Regions from separate parts of the Homo sapiens genome. Here regions 1, 2, 4, 5 and 6 are each linked to region 3. The links are contacts of gene promoters, found by promoter capture Hi-C in blood cells and fetal thymus (Javierre and others, 2016). All regions are on one chromosome and are shown on one strand. The core of a region is centred on a gene start or on the middle of the fragment in contact, and the rest is flanking DNA. Distances in the headings are between cores, read along the strand shown. Region 1 has its middle 12 kb from the start of GRM1. Region 2 overlaps SHPRH (SNF2 histone linker PHD RING helicase). Region 3 holds the start of RAB32 (RAB32, member RAS oncogene family). Region 4 overlaps SHPRH (SNF2 histone linker PHD RING helicase). Region 5 overlaps SHPRH (SNF2 histone linker PHD RING helicase). Region 6 has its middle 9.1 kb from the start of SHPRH.

Region 1 (3,680 bases), core at 65-2,564, 530 kb after region 3:
ATTATTATTATTATATAAGGACAATGATGCTCTTTGGTGATAGAGAAGGTAGTATCTTGTTGAAAAAGGTCTAAAGTTCACTAAGGTTCAAATTTTAATGAAATAATTGCTTTGCAGGCTTAATAATAAAGCTATTTTTTATACTTGAATAAGACCCTTTCAACCACCCAGATATGTTGGATTTCTACTAGATTGCCTTAGAATAATCAAACCAGCCAACCCAGTTCACCATATAAGTATTTAATAATCAATACATGATGCTGTATAATTAATATAGTTGTGAATTATCCATTTTGATTCTGTCTGACCTAACCAAACCATACTGTCTAGTTTAGTTAGCCACCTATAACCCAGACTGAAACTTTGAAGTAAGCTTATTACTAGAATAACTCTTGATGATTAAAATATAAGAATTTATCAGAGGTTTTGCATTTATTGTAATTAACATATTTGGGCTTAAACCTTGTTTTTCCTACCCTACAAGTCATGATATGCCTGTAGATTTGTCAATTGCTTGAACAATTGGGAAATTTGTAGAGTTGGTTTTTCAAGCTCAAAGGATTAGAAATCTGAAAGGGTAGTGGCAGTTGTGACAGCTAATTATATATTAGTAATGATGTCAATGACAGTTGCTGTGAGTGATAGTGATGACAACAATGATAGCAGAACAGAGCCAAGGAACAAAATAAGGAACTCCAAGTGGCTAAAGGAAGAGAATCCATCAAAGGGGACCAAGCATCCAAAGAAACAGAAAAGAAACTGGAAGAATAAGATGCTAAAGAAGTCAAGAAGAAAAGGAACCTCAAGAAGAAGGAATGAGTAAGTTGTATGGAATGTTGCTGAAATGCACCAATTAAAATTACAACAGAAAAGAATGCCCTGGATTTAGCAAAATAGGGAAAATTGGTAGCCCTAGCAAGAGCAATTTTGGTCAAGTGTTGGGAGTGGAAGACTGACTGGGGTGGGTTGAATACTGAATTGGATACAGAATAACCCAAGAGACTTTACAGACTAATTTTTAGAATTAACAAGAGAGTTCAGCAGAGGTTCTACATATAAATCCAATATACCAAACTGACTGCATTCCTAAATACTAATAAGTAGTAAAACATAATCTAATTTTAAAATGCTGTTTGAATCTGGAAAAAGAAGAAAAATCAAACATATTCATTTACTTTTGTTCCCTTAATAAATTTATTGTATTGTCATTAAAATGATAATGAAGAGGTTTTTAAGGCTTGAATCTATAAGGTAAAGAGAAAAGGAAATCAGAAAACAGGGGAAAAGTAAGCCAAAAACACATATGATAAAAAGGTGACTGCTTGAGAAGATTCAAGCAAGGTGAATTCTAGGTTGGCAGTGAGAAAATTCATAAGCAATTTCAGTTATATCATAGAAACCACATTAAGAAATTTGTAGCGCCAGACACGGTGGCTCACGCCTGTAATCCCAGCACTTTGGGAGGCCGAGGCAGGCGGATCACAAGTGAGGAATTCGAGACCAGTCTGGCCAATGTGGTGAAACCCTGTCTCTACTAAAAATACAAAAATTAGCCGGACATGGTGGCAAGCACCTGCAGTCCCAGCTACTCTGGAGGCTGAGGCAGGGGAATCACTAGAACCCGGGAGGTAGAGGTTACAGTGAGCCGAGATCGCGCCACTGCACTCCAGCCTGGGTGACAGAATGAGACTTCATCTCAAAAAGATAAAAGAAATTGGTAGCATCAGCTACCTCTAAAAGTAGAGGTCAGGATGAAGGCAAAAATAAGAGAATTGGTTGGAAGTTTGAAAAACAAATAGATCCTCAGATTGCCTCACTGACTCCATATAGCCAAGTAACTCTCCTACTCCCAGGAGTAGAAATCTCTTCTCTGGATAGGGTAAAACAAAGAGTGCCTGCACAGGAGACATCAGGCACAGCTGAGTGTGGTGGTGTCATACTGAAAACAAGGAGATTAAATGAATGCTCAAATACTAATGATTACATCCACTTCTCTGCCCTCTTCCCCTATTCATCTTAGTGAGAATTAGCAACTACATTAATACCTTCTGTGAAGGCAGTTAGAAGATGCTTCTCTGGATAATCTGATGGGTCCAAAGGAAAGATAAACTATACTTATACTGAGGGTCCTTAAGGGAAAAGCCAAGCCAAAGTACCCTGCAGTAAGTATCACAGATGAATGTCAAATGATCATTGAAGTGTCTGATCAGCTTTTTAGTGGACGAGACCACTACAACAGAGTGAAGAAAGCTTGTTGATCATGGATTTATAATCTAAAATGTGTTTTAGAAGAGTTTGAGAGGATCAGGGTGGAATTTGAGCCAGTGTAGCTCATATTCATAGCTCTCAGAAGATAATATGGGAGATAATTAATAACAGAAGAGGCTTCTACTTTGGACAGAATTATGTTCTGGTTTGCCCAGAACAGATTCAGTGTATACCTCTTATAGATTCATTCATGGCTTTATTTTGTAGCACTCCCTTTCACTCTCAAAAGTGCCCTGATTTGAACGACCAATGTCCCCAAGGATAGAAGGGAAGGTAAATTTAGTCCACAACACAGCTTGGAGAAAGACTTTAAAATAGTCCTGACAGTATTCTTCTGTGGCCCAGGGATTACAAGGTAAATTCAGACTTCTTTTGTCTTCTGATTAGTAGATGTCAAATTCAGTACGTGTATCTGCAACAGTAAAAGTGAGCAACTATAACATCTTTATGGGGGAGTGACCATCTTAAGGAAATAGGGCCAATGCTCTCTGAGAGATTTTTATTTCTACTGATTCAACTCTAGCAAGCATTGGTTACATAGGACATCCCCATTTTAAATTTTGATTGAGATTATATTATATTTAAAAATGACCTTAAAAAAAATCTGTAACTGTTTCCCCTTATTCTTCCCTATTAGTGTGAATGAGATTAACTCTTATCGCATTCCTGAGGCAATTCAAGCTTTAGATGAAAATTGTTCTCTTATTGCAGGAAGCAAAAAAAGCAAATGTAATGGAGACATTAATGGAATACACAAGTTTTATAGGTCATGATTCCTAATTCAAGTCCTGTAACTCCCAATAATGTCTTCAACTACCATTGGAGAATGTGTTGGGAAAGACTGCAGAAAATCAATCAGTCCATCAGTAGATTAACCTATCAATTGATATTCCCATAAAGAGATAAGAAAATATAAATGCTGGTATAGCTGCAGGATAAATAAAAAATAAATGCCAAAATTAATTAAGTAATTTAAACATTGTACAAGAGTGAAATTACATGAACTAAGGTACATTCCAACTTCGAAAATGAAGTTATCAGTACTAATGCTGCTGAGATATATTAATACCTGTATAGGGAGACTTGTGATATATGCAGTACGTGTACAAATCCAAATAGACCAAATAATTTGTTCCCAATATTTTATAAATTGGGGGTTAGATTTAATAAAGGGATTTTCTACTTCAAAGAACCATGAGTTCCTTTCAATTAATAGTTTATTCTTTCATAAGACTTTATAGAACACAACACGATATTTCTAGGATGATTTAAATGTGGATCTCTCCAACCTAACTTGTACTCCACTTTACTTACCTACGCATTCCTCCACTCCCTCCATGAACGTTACTCTTATTCCTACCTCTTTATCTCAGGCTTGTCTTCTCCCTGCCATGCTGGTTGGTCTCTCCCTC
Region 2 (3,846 bases), core at 1,333-3,832, 610 kb after region 3:
TTGTTCATTGGTTTAAAAATAATAGTTTGTGGGATCATTTTTTCAGCAAATATTTGTGTGCCACATCTGATCTAGGTAACGATGATATGGTAAATAAAGTAACTCTGATCTTGCAGACCTTAAATTCTTACAGAGGGTGACAAGTACACACACACCCTCCCACACACACACACAGAACGTATATGTGTAAAGTTATAGTGTTATATATTATGCACAAAATTAAAGCAGGTTAGAAAGAGCATCTTATATTTACATGGAAGAGTATTAGTGGCTTCTCCATCTCTCACGGATCACTTTTTTTGCATTAGGTCTAATATCTTACAAACTGTCATTTTGTATATTTTGCCTGTTATTGTAGTTTTTGCAGGGAAGAGTAAATCCATTGTCTGTTACTCTATCTTGGCTGGAAGCAAAGTTATATAACTGGCACTTTTAATAAGCACCATATAGACACACCTTTCCATATAAATATGAGAAACATTAAAACTGTATTCCATAGATTCAAGAGTGAAGATGAAACATGTTAAGTAGAAACCTTGAAAACATGCAATCAAACTTCTGGAAATCAAAATTTCAATGTCTAATATAGAAAATTCACTTAATAAATAGAAGATTAGACACCGCCTAAGAAAAAAATCAATAAAGTCAAAGTATAGAATAGCAATAGAAACTCTCCAACATGAAAAACGAAGAAGACTGAAAATTTTGAAAAGAGCCTCAGTGAGGTTGTGGACAACTTCACATGGCCTAATATAAATGTATTGGAGTCCCCAAAGGAAAAAAAAAAAAAAGAAATATATTGTGGGTTTTATATCATGTAAATGTACAATGTGTAAAAGCAATGATACAAAGTCTGTGTGGGGAGACGTGGATGTATAATATTGTAAGATTATTATCCTATATATGAAGAGGTATAATATTATATGAAGGTAGACTGTGTGTGACAAGGCAAAGAATGTGCACCCTACAGCCACCACTTCAACATACAACAAGGAGTTAGAGGTAATAATCCAAAAGAATAGATAAAAAGAAAAAATAAAAAATCAGGCCAGGCACGGTGGCTTGTGCCTGTAATCCCAGTACTTTGGGAAGCCGAGGCAGGCAGATCACAAGGTTAGGAGATGGAGACCATCCTGGCCAACATGGTGAAACCCCGTCTCTACTAGCTGGGTGTGGTGGCATGCGCCTGTAGTCCCAGCTACTTGGGAGGCTGAGACAGGAGAATCACTTGAACCCCGGAGGCGGAGGTTGCAGTGAGCTGAGATTGCACCACTGCACCCCAGACTGGGCTACAGAGCAGGACTCCATCTCAAAAATAATAATAAGTAAATAAATAAATAATAAATTAAAAATCTTCAAAAAAAAGAAAAAAGGGTGCAAAAAACAAATGAGATGATTAGAAAACAAACAGCAAGATGGTAGATTTAAAAACAAGCTTATCAGTGATCACGTAAACTGAAATGGTCTAAATATCCCAATTAAGAGGCCTGGATTGTCAGACTGGATTAAAAACAAACAATAACCATCAATATGTTCTCTATAAGAAACCTACTTTATATTTAAAGATGCAAATGTAAGAGGATGAAAAAAGATATGTTAACACTAATCAAAAGAACGATAAAGCCACTATATTTCTATCAAGTAAAACAGATTTCTTATTAATACTGCCTGCTAACTGATTGTACCACTGGAACTTATAAAGTAGATTTCAGAGCAAAGAATATTACCAAGGATAAAGGGTGTTACTTTATCACTAGAGAAAAAAATTCTAAATATTAACGTACCTAAAACAAGAGTTTCAAAATAAATACTAAAAACTGATAGAATTATAACGAGAAATAAACAAGTGCGTAATTATTGTCAGAGATTTCTACATCCCTCTCTCAGTTATGTATAGAATAAGTAAAAAATAAGTGAGGGCATACATAGTTCAAACACCGCTGTCAACCAGTTGACCTAATCAGTGTTTATTGACTACCCAACCAAAGAGGAATATACATTGTTTTCAAGTACACATTAAATGTATATGAAGATAGGGCATATTCTGGGCTGTAAAACAAGGCAGTAAATTTCAAAGGATTCATGCTTACAGAGTGTGTTCTATGCCCACAGTGGTAGATACCAATAACAGAAGGAAAACTGGAAAGTCCGCAAATGCTGTGAATTAAATAACACACTTCTAAACCTTTGGGTTAAAAAATAAAAGGGAAAGTAGGAGATACTTTGAAGTGAATAAAAATGAAATATCAAAATTTGTGGGATGCAGCAAATCAGTTATTAAAAAGAAATTCATAGCATTAAACATGTACTAGAAAAGAAAAAAGTTTCATATCGGAGACTTCAGCTGCTACCTTAAGAAATTTAAAAAAAAAGAGCAAATGAAGTACAAAGAAATCAGTTGCCCAAAGAAATGTGTGCTTTTTGTAGAATATAAATCTTCTTACATTAAGCCTCTTTGAGTAGCCCGTCTGTAGTTGTTAGCTCTTTAGCATAATAGAACCAGAAATGGAAAGTGTCTCTTATTGTGCTAGATACTTGGGTAGAGTTATAAGGATTCTCAGAAGCTGAGCAGAAATAGCTCTAGACAAGAACTGAATAGGGTGGGCCTACTTACATGCTGCAGTTGGAACCCTGTGAAATGGTATATATTGTTCAAGATTTCCGAACTTCAGTGTCTTTGTCAATAAAATATTACAGGTGCTTTACTTACCTCAACTATTGTTCTTAATACAAAATGTAGAAGCACATTGAAAACGTTATAAAAACAGAGATGAAGAATGATGTTATTGGTTATGGTAATATGAAGGTTACCTCAGATTCTTACCACTTTCAACCTGCTCACAATGTAAATTCTGTTATCAATATCTAATAGAAAAGGGCCTATTATTATATATTCGTGTTAAATTGTTCACATATAGTACACGTAACTTTGTGTGCAAATCTTCCCTCTAGGGCATTCCCTAGAAAGTCCTCAATTTAGCTAGCAGTGTATTGTTGATTATTAAGAGAAATCCGCCACCAGAAAGTCCATTAATAGAGGATATGTTCCTTCTGAATTGTAATTTTCAACTTAATTGTAATAGATTTGCTGCTTTTAGTTTTTATTAACTTCATAGTAATGTGTTAAACAATATTCATTTTTTAAAGTAACATTACATATATAACTTACATAAATTAGATTCTTCTAATGTGAAGATCAGACAGTGAAGGTCTGACTTTTAAAAGAAATCTAAAATTAATTTCAAACTCTAAAAAGATTTGCTTATATTATATGTAAATAAATACGTATGATACATTAATACATATTCTGAGATTCTCCTTGACTGGTATTAAACACATTTTATTATTCCAATTTTGAACATTGTGTTTTCTGCAGATGATTTTCGGAGAAAATTAGCTTGACAATATCAAATCCACCAGTTTTCTTAGAAATGTTAGCGCCATCAAGTGGCTGAGAATGGGTATTTCCAAATTTGACTTAAACCTTTATAACATTGAATATGGGTTTTTTTTTAATCTTCCTCAGAAAGCATGTCTTTTTAAAAATAAACATGCAAAACCAGGTATTATAACGAATAGATAAAATTCAGCTGCTTTACATTATAGTTTAATCACTATACCTTCTTTAAAAGGTATGGTAATTATGAAGAGAAAATTGTTAATTGAATTATTCTCTACAAATGGTAGTATAAATACTGATAGAATTCATAATGTCCTTTGAAAAGCTTTAATCAAGACTCTTAACTAAAAAAAGAGAACTCACTGTGAAGATAATTGAATGTTAATGCCTACGTTATAAAGTAACTTTATTATTGTGAAAATAATCTTCTCCCTTATTTAAAGGGA
Region 3 (3,991 bases), core at 407-2,906:
GACAGACAGTAGACCTGTGATCCCCCCAACCACTCTGCTACCAGCCAGGTAGCTATACCCTCCATGGGCTTCAGTGTAGGGACTGTAGAATGAAGGGTGGCCTCAGGTGTCCTCTAACCCTAAACCAGCTCCCATTCTAATGCTGTACTGCAGACTGTGCTTCTTAACACCTGTAATGATTGAACAGAGTAATTTTCGTACTTTTTTTTTTTTTTTCTGAGATAGGGTCTCACTCTGTTGACCAGGCTGGAGTACAGCAGTGAGAACACAGCTCACTGAAGCCTTGACCTCTCCTAGGGTCAAGTGATCCTCCTGCCTCAGGCTCCTGAGTAGCTGGGACTACAGGCACGCACGACCACACTTGTCTAATTTTTTGTATGTATGTATGTATATATGTATGTATGTATTTTGTAGAGACAGGGTCTCACTAACAGCCCAGGCTGGTCTCGAACTCCTGTGCTCATGCGATCCTCCAGTCTAGGCCTTCCAAAGTGCTGGGATTACAGGCGTGAGCCACTGGCACTTGGCTTGGTACCATTTCTATGAACTTTCCAATAGTTAACATCATCTTTAAAACGCCCACTCCCAACCACCACACCAGGCAAAGTTCAAGTGTTCATAAATCAGAGCAGAGGGAAATGTACCCCCTCAAACAGAACAAATGAAAGCAAATGGCAGAGAAACACTGTATTGAGGAGTGGGGGGGGGGCGGGGGGGGGCGAGGGCACCAGGGATGGGACTAGGTGTTGGTTTAGCAAGAGAGGAAGGGGTGAGTGTAAGGTTTCAGAAAAGCTTTCCCAAATCTTCACGGAGTGTCTGTCCTCGGCTTCCGATGAGAGCAAAGTATTTGAGGAATGGAGTTTCCCTCACAAAGGCCAGTCTCAGAGCCAAGGCGGGTGGTGGAAAATGATCTGGAAAGGAACCTGGCTTTTGGTCTTGGTGGTGTCACTAACTAGGAGTGCAGCTTCGGGTTAAGTCACCCAATCCCTCTGAACTTGAGTTGAGGCTGAGAGGCGCCGGCCCGCTCCAAAGCAGCCTTCTCAACTAGTCCTGGTGTATGTATGATATACTTGCATTATTCAGAGTTCAAACTTCTGGAAAAGGCCCCCTGGCCTCCTCGCCTCCCTTCAGGAGAGCGAGCTCTGGCGTGCAGGACCTGCTCCAACTCCTACTGCCCATCCCATCCTCTGGGCCCCACCGAGTCCAGCCGACCGCGTCCATCGCATCTCGCCCTTGGATTGGGCCTCTCTCTTCTCCTAAAGGTACCCAGGCAGACGAGTTCAGGCAGAAAAGAAAAAGAAAAGAAGCAGAGAGGAGCCAGGCGGCCCGGCGGGGCTCTGGAGTGGGAAACTCGCGGCCGCGCTTACCCGCGATGTCCCACAGCTGCAGGCGCACCAGAGTCCTGCTGTCCCAGTTGAGGACCTTGAGGGCGAAGTCCACCCCGATGGTGGCCCGGTAGTGCTGGGAGAAGAGCTGGTGGACGTAGCGCTTGATGATGCTGGTCTTGCCCACGCCAAGCTCGCCGATCACCAGCACCTTGAAGAGGTGCTCGCGGGTCTCGGGCGCTGGGGCGGCGGCCGCCCCCAGGCCGGGGTCCCCGGCTCCTCCGCCCGCCATGAGCGCTGCGGCTGTCGGGCGCGCCTCGACTCCGAGTCTGGCCCCCTGCCCGGCCTCGCGCTCTGCCGCCGCGCCCCCGGCGGCCGCGGAAACTCCCCCGAGGCCGGCCAGCCCTCCGCCGCGCCCGCTGACGCCGCCTGACCGGTCACAGGACCCAGAACCCGCCAGTGCTCGCGGCCCGGGCGGGGCCAGACGAGGGCAGGGCCGGACGAGGGCAGGGCCTGGCGCCGGCTTGGGGAGGACCCTGCGCGAGGCGGCTCCCGCCCTGCGCCTCTGAAGCCCGGCCGGGCCCAACTGGACTTCCTCTCCCGGGCGGCGCCTCCGAAGCCCGGCCGGGCCCAGCTGGACTTCCTCTCCCGGGCGGCGCCTCCTGGCGGTCGCGGCGCGGAGGGAGGCCCAGACGCCCGCTGGTGGGCCTCCGGGGAGCCGGCCTGGAGCCTTTATGGGCCCCGGAGGTTCACTGGGGGCCTGAGGAGGCGCCGAGGTCGCTGAGCCCCCCCCGGGGCCGGGGTCGGCGTGGGGTCCGGGCCCAGCCTGGAAGCCTCTGGCCTGGAAATCCACCTCCTGCCCTACTCTCCCCGCAGGGAGAGCCACACTTGCGGGCCTTGGCTTGGGTCGCGAGCAGTCCCCTTTAGATGGGAAAGGAAGTGGCACCGTGACTTTGAACTTAACGAAGGACGGATAACACTGGGCTGGTAGTTCTGTTTTTAACTTTTTGAGTGAACCTCCGTAGGGTTTTCCATAATGGCTGTTCCAGTCCGCATTCCCACCACCAGTGTACAAGGTTCCCTTTGCTCCGCACATCACCGACACTTATTATCGCTTATCTTTTTTATAACAGTCATCCTAGCAGGTGTGAGGAGATACCTAGTGGCTTTTCCCTGTTCATTAGTGATTTTGAGCGCCTTTTCTTATACCTGTTGGCAATTTGTACTTCCTCTGGAAAAAAAAAAAAAGTCCATTCACATCCTTTGCCCGTTAGTTAACTGGGTGTTTTATTTATTTATTTTGGCTGAGTTCTGTGAACGTAATGTATTTTGGATATTAACCCCTTATCAGATATATGGCTCACAAATATTTTCTCCCAATCTATAGGCTGTTTTTTCATTTTGTTGATTATTTCCTATGCGGTGCAGAAGCATTTTAGTTGGATGAAGTCCCATTTATCTAGGTTTGCTTTGGTTGCCTGGGCTTTTGGTGTGATATTGCAAAAATCGTTGCTAAAGCCAGTGACCCAGCTATCCCTCTTCTGGGTGTATACTCAAAGGAAATGAAATCAGGATCTCAGAAATCGCTCTCAAGTTCATGCAGCATTATTCACAGTTGCGAAGATTTGGAAACAACCAAAGTGTCTGTTAACGATGAATGGATAAAGAAATTGTAATACATACATAGGCATGCACGCGCGCATATACACAGACGCACACACACACACAATGGAATATCATTCAGCCTTTAGAAGGCGATCCTGACATTTGCAACAACATGGATAAACCTGGAGGACATTATGCTAAGCGAAATAAGCCAGACACAAAAAGAAAGATACTGTGCAATATCACTTATATGTGGAATCTTAAACACACACACACACACACACACACACACGGAATACGTGGAAACAGTGGTGGTTACCAGGGGCAGGGAAGAAACGGAATGATGCAGGTCAAAGTGTACAAAGTTGCAGTTATATAGGATGAATGAGTCCTAATGATCTAATGTAGCATGAGCGTTATAGTTAATAATATTGTATTTTAAACTGGAAATTTGCTAAGAGAGTAGACTGTAAGTGCTGTTACCATTAAAAAAAAATTGCAGCCAGGTGTGGTGGCACCCACCTGTAGTCCCAGCTACCCAGAAGACTGAGGTGGGACGACTACCTGAGCCTGGGAGGTCCAGGCTTCAGTGAGCTTAATCGCACCACTGTATTCCACCTGGGCGACAGAGTGAGACCATCTCAAAAAAAAAAAAAAAAAAAAAGAAAAGAAAAAATGAAAAGAAAAAATTGTGTAACTATGTGAGATGATGGACATGTTAATTTGTTAATTTGCTTAACTCTAGTAACTATTTCACTATGTATATCAAAGCATCATGCCGTATACCTTAGATATAGATATATATATATATACACACACACACAACAAAATAGTCTATTAAAAACCTTATCATGCTTTAGCATTTAAATTATGGAAGGAGTTTGAGAAAGAAGACACAGGGACTCTGAAGCCATCTTACTTTACTTCCCTAACAATCCTTTTTCAACCTTCATCTGGTAGTGTTTGGATTAGATGTAAATGCTCTAAGATAAATCATAGGAAATTGATTGGAAAGTAGTAGACTTGTGGGTTTTTATTTTAAAGAAGAAACATGGGGGACA
Region 4 (3,894 bases), core at 342-2,841, 630 kb after region 3:
TAGTACTGTACAAATGCTGGTTACTTCTGACAAAAGTCAGTGATGAAACTGATAAAAGTTGTGATAAAAATGGAAGAAATCATGACATAAAGTAGTATTTTTTGCTTTTAGTTTTGATAAGATTTATACAACTGGACTGTCTCAGATATTTCATTTTGTCTTAAACATTTTCAGTTTTTAAAGTTCTTTCATATACATTAGTTCATTTAATTCTAGCATAACCTAGGTTTCCTGCACTTGGAAGACCATATTGGATTTCAATAATAGTAATAAAAATACTTTTCAAGCTCTGTTCATACTTACAATATATAGTAGCCGTATTTTTTTTTCCTTTTTGGATCCCCAGTTCTCCCCCCTTCTAATTTAGGGCTATTAAATTAGAATCTATCAGAGTTAACCCATATGTACCAGCTGATGCACCTGGAGGCATTGCCATTTGTCTCTTCTGTTTGGGTCAGTCAGCTTCCTGTCACTCCTAATGGTCAGGTGCCAGGTATCTCGTTGCTTCTTCTCCATTGCACATGTAGGTGGACCTGTCTTGATGTTTAGTTGGTCCATTTTGAGCTCTAGTGAGTCACAAAACTCCTTTCCAGTAGAGTACCCCAGTGGCACTAGAGGTACATAAAGTACAATATAGTGCTGCTCTGTGTCATACAAAAATGCTAGTAAAACAGCTCTTCAATTTCATTAGTCTCAACTCCTGTGGACTCTGGCAGAGGTGCAGCTAGAGAACAGTAGGAATAGTATTAGCTGTTAATAGGCAAAATAGTGGTTTGAAAACCAAGCTTATATACCTCAGTTTTCTCTTCTTTCAATGTGAGTTCTTTTCCAAAGAGCATCTTAGATGATCCAGCAAAGAATCTCAAGTGGGCCAGGTACGCACTTTCTTTCCATACATGTCCAAATCTTAAAAAAAACATAGCTTAAGGATTTAGAAGCTTTGTCACTCAAAAGACACTCAGTTTTTCTTATTGTTTTTACCAGATGAAAACGGTTAAAACTACATTTGTAAGATGCCATAGCTTTTAGAACTTACACCTAGACTAAATCTATTGTTCTTACGTCTCTCGTTGCCAAAGAGGGCAAAAGTCTCCATGGTATGTTGCAGAGATTCAGAGAGGATTATTTTATTTTTCCCGAATAGGACAAGGGGTTTCTTAAACATTTCTTTTTGGCTGGGCGCGGTGGCTCACACCTGTAATCCCAGGCCGAAGTGGATGGATCATGAGGTCAGGAGTTCGAGACCAGTCTGGTCAGTGTGGTGAAACCCCTCTCTACTAAAAATACAAAAATTAGCTGGTCGTGGCAGCAGGTGCTTGTAATCCCAGCTACTCAAGAGGCTGAGGCAGGAAAATTGCTTGAATCCTGGAGGTGGAGGTTGCAAGGTTGCAGTGAGCCAAGACCGCATCATTTGCACTCCAGTCTGGGCGACAGAGCAAGAATGTCTAAAAAATAATAGTAATAATAATAATTTCTTTTTGTTTGTAATTTTTTAAATAACCAGAACCATTTTCAAAATAAATTTGAGATACTATCCCATATTATTTTCTATATAAGTGCTTTAATGTGTGAAAATATAAATCTGTTTTTTAAATTAAATGGAACATATCGAGTATGATATTATCTCCAAATTAATATTCTAAGTCCCTCTGTTATATCTGTTGTTAGAGTGCTGAAGGACTAATTTACATTCTTCCCAAATACAGAAATGAGAACACCACCTTTCTACAAAGTAGTGGTGACTGACTATCATACTCACTTTTAGGATAAACAGAACTAAAGATTATGAAAACTTACTTTGGAATAAAAAATTAATTTGAAGGCACAACTTGGCTTTATGACAAAGAATATTAATGTTATGAAATCTTTAGGAGGAAAAATTGCGAATCTCTTTTTAATATGCTTATAAATTGTAAGGCATCTTTGATAGCACTAAGGCTTGTTCTGTTTTCTTTTTAGTGGGCGGTACTGACCTGTGGTCACTGTTTCTGTAATGAATGCATTTCTATAATTATTGAACAATACAGCGTGGGATCTCACAGAAGCTCCATTAAGTGTGCAATCTGCCGCCAGACCACATCTCACAAAGAAATCTCGTATGTCTTTACCTCAGAGAAAGCAAACCAGGAGGAGGACATCCCTGTGAAGGTAAAGTAGGTCAGGAACACATAGAAGCATAGGTAAGGCAATATAATATAGGAAGCAGTATCTGATTAAGAAAGCATGAACATCAGAACAAGCTTGACAGTGAATAGGTAGACGCCACTGTTGTCTGTAGATACACTGCCTGAAAGCCTCAGCTTAACCATGTAATTTTTAATTGTAGGAGGAACACAGAACACTTATTCAAACATGGTTAGCGATAGTCATGTACACTGTGACTAAAATGTAACATCTTAAAATTACAGTTTCCTATCCTCTATAATATTTCTATCCACCACAAGTAGACAGAGGTCTGGTTACATTAGAGATTTATTTAAAGAAAGAGTTTTCCTCATTCTTTTACACATCCCTGAATGTAAGGAAAAAAGGATGTGTCTAACTAAACAGAAGGATAAAATAAATTGGCTAATGAAGACAGCTACAAGAAAGAGGGTAATGTGCTTTTTAAACAGCATAGATTGATATTCCAGGATAAAGCCAAATTTTGGCTTTATTTTCCTAATTTTTTTCCATGCTTCATTCAGAATTTTAAGAAAATTACTATAATGTGATATCCAGACTGGATCTGTAATTGGATTTACTGCTTTTAAGGGGTATTTAATAAAAAGCCAAGACTATTTTGCTCTTTCTTTTCCTTAAATATGCTTTTTTAATATTTTTTTTCTAACCAAACTTGAACAAAGGACACATCGGTATCTAAATTTAGTAGCAAATGTGGGCTTTAAGGAATAGAGAATGAGAATTAGAGAATGATGGGGTTGACTCTTAAGCAAGATGAAGTATTCTTTATTAATTCCTTCTGAGTTTTTGATACTCCTCACTTTTAAGTAATGTGTTTTTTAAGTAGAATCAGCTACAAGTTGAAATTCACTACCAGTAGTTAAGCAGTTATTAGGGTACCCTTCTCCCAAGAAAACTGTAGCTGCATTAAAGAACTTTTAATTGCTCTTTTTTCACTGTTATTTGAGTAAAACCTGAAAATATCAGTTATATTGCTCTTTAGTCTGTTGGGATAAACAGAATTCCACAGTTAGAATAAGCATTCATCCATTCATTCCACACATATATATTGGACACGTACTAGCACACAGGCAGTGTGCTAGGCCTCATAGACACAGCATACACATAAATAAAACAGATATGGTTACTACTTTTGTGGAGATTGGTGAAGGAGTTTGAGTTGGGGCAGGAAGCACAGATGTTAATAAATAATGTGTTATAATTGTGATAAGCACTACAAAAGAACAAAGCTGGAGGCATCATGCTACCTGATTTCAAACTATACTACAAGGCTACAGTAACCAAAACAGAATGGTACCAAAACAGACATATAGGCGAATGGAGCAGAACAGAGACCTCAGAAATAATACCACACATCTACAACTGATCTTTGACAGACCCGACAAAAACAAACAATGGGGAAAGGATCCTATTGGGTAAATGGGGCTGGAAAAACTGGCTAGCCATATGCAGAAAACTGAAACCGGACCCCTTCCTTACACCTTACACAAAAATTAACTCAAGATAGATTAAAGACTTAAATGTAAAACCCAAAACCCTAAAAATCCGAGAAGAAAACCTAGGCAGTACCATTCAGGACGTAGGCATGGACAAAGACTTCATGACAAAAATGCCAAAAGCAATTGCAACAAAAGCCAAAATTGACAAAGGGAATCTAATTAAAGAGCTTCTGCAGAGCAAAAGAAATTATCGTCGGTAAACAGGCATCCT
Region 5 (4,001 bases), core at 629-3,128, 650 kb after region 3:
ACTGATCGAGCTAAAATTAAAATGTACCTTTCTTTTTTAGGAGAACCTTTCAGCATTTAAACGTGATCCCCAAATCAATATTTTGCTGCTGCCCCTGCACACAGGTTCTAATGGATTAACTATCATTGAAGCAACTCATGTTCTCTTGGTGGAGCCCATATTGAACCCTGCCCATGAGCTTCAGGCCATAGGGAGGGTGCACCGAATTGGACAGACAAAGTAAGGACTAAAATTAGAATCAGTCACATTTGCTTCAGTTTTCTGAGAAACCAAATCAGTATTTAAACTCTTCATTTATGTTCATCATAGCGTACTTGTTTTTAATTACTTCCTTAGATACTACATTTTTTAATTATTTATTTTATAACTTATTTATTTATAACTTTTTAATTATTTAATTGAAAGGCATGAGATTTCCAACCCTCCCTTCTCTCCAAGAAGCAAACCCCCAAATTGTCCCAATTTTTTTCTTCCCTCCCACAAAAACCTTATCACTTTATCCAAAAAAAAGCTTGTTAGAAATACTTAAGACAGCTACAAAGTTGAAGGCATCCATCATGCCTTTGAGGAGAATGGAGTTTTGATTGTCTAAAGTAGTCCCGTGTTTAAAAGAAGACATACCTTGTACATGACTGAAAATAAATGGCTCCTTTTAAAATTCTTAACATTAGGAAAAGACACCCCCTAGGTCAGCTCCAAGAGATCATTAGATTCAGTTTAAGGCCCAAAGCAAACCTAATAATGAATATTATTATATGGCATGTATTACCTTTATTCATATATCAGAATAGACAGTTATCTTTGATAAGGCCTGCTAAATGTATTACCTTCTGGATGTTAGAAGTCTTTGATGTTTAAAAAAGGAAAAAAAAACACATCCATAATAAGCACTTACTAAATCAGTATTTATTGAGCACCTACTGTATGTCAGGCATTATTCTAAATACTGAAGATTCAAATTGAATGATACATAATTTATTTCCCCAAGGAGGTCACTGTGTAGTACAGGAAGCATGACTTAAAGTGTTGGGGTAGAATGTGCAAAAGTATAATAATAAAAGGACTGTGTTAACAAAAGAAGATAATGATCACTCGGGCCCTACAGAGTCAGGAAAGACTTTATGGTGTTAAGTCTTGAAGGAATAATTATTTCAAAGTTGGCTGGAAAAGGGTATTCACACAGCCAAAGAGAGTTATATATGCAAAAATACAATGGTGGGAAATGACATGACATTTCTAGGGACTGTAAGGAGTTTGGAATTGTTGCAGTATAAAGTATGAGAAAGAGATCATCGGCAGGAGATGAAGTCTTCTGTGTCATACTCAGAAATGTAGACTGCCCCGTAAGAAGTAGCGGGGAGAGAAAATAAAGGGCTTACTTGAAAACAGGAAAGAGACATGTTTATTAAACCTCTTAACAAATAGGGCAAAGTAACTGTAATAAATGCGGGCTTGTTCTAACATACCACCAAGTGGCATTTAAAATGCAGTCATGTCTTACTTGTTTTTTGTTGGTTTTCTTCTGTGTTTTTAAATATTGATTTTTTGTCCTACCAATGTTCTTTTAAAGCATAGGCTGGACTAGTCTCATATTTAAAACCACGAGTCCAAAAGGCCATTCAGCATTACCCAACAATCTTACTATGCCTCGCAAGTCAATATGTTTTTTTCTACTTTCTGAGGAGTCTGTCTTAAGTGTGTCTTCTTCCTCCCCATGGCGATCTTGCCTCATACAGGGGAAACATATACAATCAGATTAGAAGTACCTCATCTTTCCATCATCAACTTGAACAGTCTGCCTGCATCAGTACTCACATACTTTTTGGTAGATTTTTATTGAGTATCTTCTGTGTGCCAGGCACTGTTTTAGGAACATGAGATGTCCTCATGGAGTGCGATTCTAGCTGTAATGGGGTTGGTAGACAGAAAGGTGGTAAACAATAAACTAAGTACAATCTGGACTATGTTAGGAGCTGGAAAAGTAGAGCAGGGTGAGGAAGTAAAAGTGCAATGTTTGGGCAGGAAGGCATGCAAGGCCTTATTGAGAAAGTCTGAGCAAGGACTTGAAAGAAATGGGAAAATGGGAAAGTTAGTCATGCAGCTATCTTGTGAAAGAATGTTCAAGTAAACAGTGCTTTCGGTGCAAAGGCCCTAAATCAGGAGTGTGGTATGTTAGAAGAATAGCAAGGAGCTACAGTTGCTAAAAGGGAGAGAAGCAGGAGTTGAAGTGAATGGGCTCAGTGGGGAGAGGGATTACATTGGGCCCAGGAAGCCACTGTGAGGATGGTGCTTTTGCCCTGTGTGAAATCGGGAGCCATTGGAAGGCTTTGAACAGAGGCTTGGCATATCTCACTTAAGTTTTAAAAGAATCATTCTGAGTGCTGTGATAGGGTGGGAGTGAAGGGGAGCAAGGAAGAGTAGAAGCAGGGAGAGTCTTGGAGGCTATTGCAGTCATCCTGGTGAGAGCTGAAGGTGACCTGACCATGGCAGTAGCAGTGCACATGATGAGGAGTGGTCAGGTTCTGGATATATTTTGAAGATAGAACTGATAGTACTTTTGGACAGACTAGACATGGGGTATGAGAGGGTCAAGGATAACACCATGGGTTTTGGCTTGGACAACTAGAAGGATGAAGTAACCTTCAACTGAGCTGGAGAAGTCTACAGGGTAGAGCAGATTTGGTAAGGGAAGAACAGACATCCAAATGGAGATTTCTATTCTGTAACTAGATGTACAAGTCCATTAAGTCACGAGACTGAATGAGATTACCTAGGAGTGAGTTTAGATAGAGACAGAGTTTAGATAGAGGACCATGGACTGAACTCCAGGGCACCAAAGTTCAGCTGTTCTAGGAGAGGAGAAGGAAGCAGCAAAGGTAACAAATAAAGATCAAACAGTGAGTTAGGAAGAAAACCAGAAGACAGGAGTGTCCTAGGAACCAAGTGAAAAATGTACCTCAAAGAAGAGGTTATGGTCACCTGTTTCAAGTGCTATGAAAAATGTCAAGGAAGATAAGGATTGAGAATTGATCATTAGATTTAGCAACATGGAGATCAAAACCAGGTTAAGTGGTAGAGGTGACAGCCTGACTTTAGTTTTGGAGAAAATGGGATTTTGTGTATTTCTTATTTAACAAATATTTGTATAACAAAGAGAGGTTAGGTAACTTGCCCATAGTCAGGCAGCTAGTAGAAGCAGTGGCAGATTTCAGGCACAGCCATTCTGCCTTCACAGTACAAGCTTTAACCACAGTGCACTGCTGCTTCTGTGTGGCTGGTAAGGCCAGTATTTTGAGGAGTTTTGCTGCAGAGAAAAGGAAGAGAATGAGATCAAGAGAGGTTTTTGTTTTCCTTTCAAATGGGAGAATTAGTAAGAAAATGATTCATTAGAGACAACAAAAACTAGTGAAGGAGAACAGGGAGAATGCTTGACAATGTCCTTGAGTAGGCAAGAGGATATGGGATCAAACACTGAAGTGGAGGAAGGGGTTGGTAGTAGGCAGAAGCATGGATATGTCATCCAGTAATAAGCAGGAAAGTACCTCATATGCCTTCCCTTTTATTACAGCAGAAGTGTCCCTTTTCTTTCAAAAGCCATCCATTCATTTGTCCTGGACTCCATTCTTTCTCATTTTTCAAGGACAGGTGTACATTTCCCTTGTACAGGTTGAGCATCCCTTAACTGAAATGCTTCAAGTGTTTTGCCTGTAGGATTTTTTCAGATTTTAGAATATTTGCATATACATAGTGAGATATCTTAGGAATGAAACCCCAGTCTAAACATGAAATTTATTTATGTTTCATATACAAATTCTACTCATAGCCTGAAGGTGATTTTATATAATATTTTAAATAATTTTGTGCACAAAACAACGTTTTTAATGTGTTTTGACTGTGACTCATCACGTGAAGTCAGGTGTTGAATCCTCCACTTGTCACGTTGGCACTCAAAAAGTTTTGGATTTTGGGTTTTTGGTTAGGGATACTCAACCTGTCATATA
Region 6 (3,774 bases), core at 746-3,245, 570 kb after region 3:
AAGCATCTGAATATTCCATCCAAAGATGAAAGTTTCAAAGTCTATATCAGTGATATTTACCTACCAATAAAACCCAGTTGTGAACACTTACATTAACACAAACATTTATTAAACACCTACTGTCTGCAAGGTAATCTGGTAGGTACTGAGGATTCAAAGATACAAGTATCTAGCTCAGTGATTCTCAACCAGAGGCGATTTTATCCCCCAGAGGATGTTTGGCAGTGTTTGGGGACATTTTTGATGGTCATGACTGTGGTCGGGGGTTGCTACTGGCATTTAGTGGGTAGAGACTAGGGATGATCCTAAACATCCTGCAATGCACAGGGGAGCCCATCATAACAAATTATCTCATGCGAAATGTCAGTAACACTGAGGTTGAAAACCCCTGACCATGAGACGTTTTCTTTCTTGCTTTCCTGAGCTTCAGCTCTGAAAATTGCAAAAAAATTTCCACCTTGTATATGAGCAAATGTGCATACAGTACACAATAAGCTTAAAGAAGGTGTTTCTATTCCAATTATACTTTTTAAATTGTGACTCAAAAAGAGAAATGAGTTGTCCAAAGAAATGCAGCTAGTAAGTGTTGGGACAAAGATTTTTAACCTGTCTGCAGAGTCTGATTCATTCTACTAGAAATTTGAGAACTATGCCCTTGGCTAGGAAATACTCAATACTCACCCCATGTATTGCAGAATATATAACCACTGTGATAAAATTTGTCTTTATGATTTTCCCCATTAAATTTCAGTGTCTTGGACAAGGGTCTGATTCTGTATCCTTTTTCTTTTTCTTTCTTTCTTTCTTTTTTTTTTTTTTTTTTTTTTTGAGACGGAGTCTCCCTCTATTGTCCAGGCTGGAGTGCAGTGGCCCAATCTCGGCTCACTGCAACCTCCACCTCCTGGGTTCAAGTGATTCTCCTGCCTCAGCCTCCCGAGTAGCTGGGACTACAGGTGCGCACCACCATGCCCAGCTAGGTTTTTTTGTATTTTTAGTAGAGACAGGGTTTCACCATATTGGCTAGGCTGGTCTCAAACTCCTGAGCTCATGATCTGCCTTCCTCAGCCTCCCAAAGTGCTGGGATTACAAGCGTGAGCCACTGCACCCGGCCTCTGTATGCTTTTTCTATTTGTAAGCGAAAAAAAAGAGCCCTAAATGATGTGAATCCAAAGGAAACTCCTTTGGTCTGTACTTCTGCAACTCACCTTTACTTCATGAACTCACAACTATTATATTTACAGTACCCCACAGGAAAGGAGGGAAATAATTGAGGCACCCAAATCTCTTTATTATCATTTGGGAAAATTAGAAAGCTTTACGTTGTCTGACCCATCCAGAAAAGTGATTCCCATCAGCACAACACAACTGGTGAATTGTTTTCCTTGTCAATTCATTCTGTTTGAACCCATTGGACAATTACATTTTAATTTGTCTTCTTAGCTACATTCTTCTCCTTCTGGACAAGAGAAATATCATTTCAAAAAATCAGTACTGTCAAAAAATAGAGAACCATATTATATAGCTAGAGAAGACTTCATTAAAATAACAATTACTCAAAAGGCTGAGTAATTCAGAGGTCTCCAAATTTTAAGGTAATTCAATAGTATTTGGGAACATGAAGAATATCTAAAAATACTCATTTCTGAAATATTTATTTTTCAAAAAAGGCATCTTCAGTCCCAACTTCTTTGAAATCATGTTTTAAGACACTTCAGGCATTTTAATCAATGCTGAAAATTTTCTCAAAACATTATTTAGGATATATTTTCCAATTAGGAGTTTTGTTTCATGTACTTAAGATACGGTTGTTAACACCTGTATTTGTGGAGGTTTTTTTCTATTTATTTTCATGACACTTTTGGTATGTTAAAGGTATGAAACAGATTTCCAGGAATGAAGTCCCAGTTTATAACACTGTGGCTACAAGAAATAAGGGTTTGATTTACATAAGCTCAGTTTTTTAGCCAACCAGGAATCAATTAGTTCATAAGCTGGAGATTATCTGCTCAAGTGGTTCCCAAACATCTGTCTCTGTATTGGTTTCACTGGAGTTACCTGAGATGGTTGGATGGTTTGGTTAATTTTTTAAAAATGAACTCCCAGGAGCTCATAGTCAACATGGGGGTGTTATGGCATAAGAACATAATTAGGCCGGGTGCAGTGGCTCACGCCTATAATCCCAGCACTTTGGGAGGCCCAGGCAGGCAGATCACTTGAGGTTGGGAGTTCGAGACCAGCCTGGCCAACATAGCAAAACCCTGTCTCTGCTAAAAGATATAAAAATTAGCCAGGTGTGGTGGTACGCACCTGCAAGCCCAGCTATTCAGGAGGCTGAGGCAAGAGAATCGCTTGAAACCAGGGGGCGGAGGTTGCTGTGACCTGAGATTGCGCCACTGCACTCCAGCCTGGGAGACAGAGTGAGACCCCATCCTAAAAAACAAATGAACAAACAGACAAAATAACATAATTAGTAATTATATACTATTATTGTGTGGTATTTAAAAATATTTAAGAATTTAAATTTATTTAAAGGCCTAATGAGGAGTTCAGAAATTTAACAGGGCTTAAAGGAAATGGAATTCAGATCTAATTTTGTCATTGTCCCAAGGTGACCTAAACAACACACAAATGTGGAAGTCAGAGCATGGCGCTGCCCTGCTAGTGGACGGAAGCTTTGGAAAGGTTCTTCATTTTCTGGCAAGCATCATTTTATGTTAAGATTATTATGAGTAAGATTTCTGGCAGAGACACAACAAAAAAAGAGAATTTTAGACCAATATCCCTGTTGAACATCGATGCAAATATCCTCAATAAAATACTGGCAAACTGAATCGGGCAGCACATCAAAAAGCTTATCCACCATGATCACATGGGCTTCATCCCTGGGATGCAAGGCTGGTTCAACATATGCAAATCAATAAATGTAATCGAGCATATAAACAGAACCAACGACAAAAATCACATGATTATCTCAATAGATGCAGAAAAGGCCTTTAACAAAATTCAACAACTCTTCATGCTAAAAACTCTCAATAAATTAGGTATTGATGGGACGTATCTCAAAATAATAAGAGTTATCTATGACCAGCCCACAGCCAGTATCATACTGAATGGGCAAAAACTGGAAGCATTCCCTTTGAAAACTGGCACAAGACAGGGGTGCCCTCTCTCACCACTCCTATTCAACGTAGAGTTGGAAGTTCTGGCCAGGGCAATCAGGCAGGAGAAGGAAATAAAGGGTATTCAATTAGGAAAAGAGGAAGTCAAATTGTCCCTGTTTGCTGACGACATGATTCTATATCTAGAAAACCCCATCGTCTCAGCCCAAAATCTCCTTAAGCTGACAGGCAAATTCAGCAAAGTCTCAGGATACAAAATCAATGTGCAAAAATCACAAGCATTCTTATACACCAATAACATACAAACAGAGAGCCAAATCATGAGTGAACTCCAATTCACGATTGCTTCAAAGAGAATAAAATACCTAGGAATCCAACTTACAAGGGACGTGAAGGACCTCTTCAAGGAGAACTACAAACCACTGCTCAGTGAAATAAAAGAGGATACAAACAAATGGAAGAACATTCCATGTTCATAGGTAGGAAGAATCAGTATCGTGAAAATGGCCATACTGCCCAAGGTAATTTATAGATTCAATGCCATCCCCATCAAGCTACCAATGACTTTCTTCACAGAATTGGAAAAAACTACTTTAAAGTTCATATGGAACCAAAAAAGAGTCCACATCGCCAAATCAATCCTAAGCCAAAAGAA

What was found. The method cuts DNA at HindIII sites, captures the fragments that hold promoters and counts their contacts. A CHiCAGO score of 5 or more calls a contact.
Region 1: a contact is called between a fragment that was not itself captured here and the fragment with the promoter of RAB32 in region 3, in 1 of 17 cell types (endothelial precursors). The highest score is 7.4, in endothelial precursors.
Region 2: a fragment that was not itself captured here is called in contact with the fragment with the promoter of RAB32 in region 3 in 6 of 17 cell types (M0 macrophages, M2 macrophages, M1 macrophages and 3 more); the score reaches 12.5 in M0 macrophages.
Region 4: a fragment that was not itself captured here is called in contact with the fragment with the promoter of RAB32 in region 3 in 3 of 17 cell types (endothelial precursors, M2 macrophages and monocytes); the score reaches 7.6 in endothelial precursors.
Region 5: a fragment that was not itself captured here is called in contact with the fragment with the promoter of RAB32 in region 3 in 1 of 17 cell types (M1 macrophages); the score reaches 6.3 in M1 macrophages.
Region 6: a fragment that was not itself captured here is called in contact with the fragment with the promoter of RAB32 in region 3 in 6 of 17 cell types (M0 macrophages, monocytes, endothelial precursors and 3 more); the score reaches 9.2 in M0 macrophages.

The regions. Positions count from the first base shown.
Region 1 is chr6:146,015,021-146,018,700 of GRCh38, reverse strand. No RefSeq gene overlaps it. Among named protein-coding and RNA genes, the nearest start is that of GRM1, 12 kb to the left of the region's middle. The HindIII fragment of the contact is 1,877 bases long and covers 376-2,252 here.
Region 2 is chr6:145,928,836-145,932,681 of GRCh38, reverse strand. The region is part of intron 14 of SHPRH (SNF2 histone linker PHD RING helicase); the gene reads left to right. Among named protein-coding and RNA genes, the nearest start is that of SHPRH, 34 kb to the left of the region's middle. The HindIII fragment of the contact is 2,290 bases long and covers 1,438-3,727 here.
Region 3 is chr6:146,541,498-146,545,488 of GRCh38, reverse strand. RAB32 (RAB32, member RAS oncogene family) reads right to left here and starts at 1,656. Exons shown (of 3, transcript NM_006834.5): 1 at 1,368-1,656. The coding sequence starts at 1,617. RefSeq lists a silencer at 1,703-2,082. The HindIII fragment of the contact is 5,944 bases long and covers 795-3,991 here.
Region 4 is chr6:145,908,702-145,912,595 of GRCh38, reverse strand. SHPRH (SNF2 histone linker PHD RING helicase) reads left to right here. Exons shown (of 30, transcript NM_001042683.3): 25 at 1,960-2,148. Among named protein-coding and RNA genes, the nearest start is that of SHPRH, 54 kb to the left of the region's middle. The HindIII fragment of the contact is 1,302 bases long and covers 941-2,242 here.
Region 5 is chr6:145,889,433-145,893,433 of GRCh38, reverse strand. It overlaps SHPRH (SNF2 histone linker PHD RING helicase), which reads left to right. Exons shown (of 30, transcript NM_001042683.3): 28 at 41-219. Among named protein-coding and RNA genes, the nearest start is that of SHPRH, 73 kb to the left of the region's middle. The HindIII fragment of the contact is 2,730 bases long and covers 514-3,243 here.
Region 6 is chr6:145,971,571-145,975,344 of GRCh38, reverse strand. No RefSeq gene overlaps it. Among named protein-coding and RNA genes, the nearest start is that of SHPRH, 9.1 kb to the right of the region's middle. The HindIII fragment of the contact is 1,359 bases long and covers 1,316-2,674 here.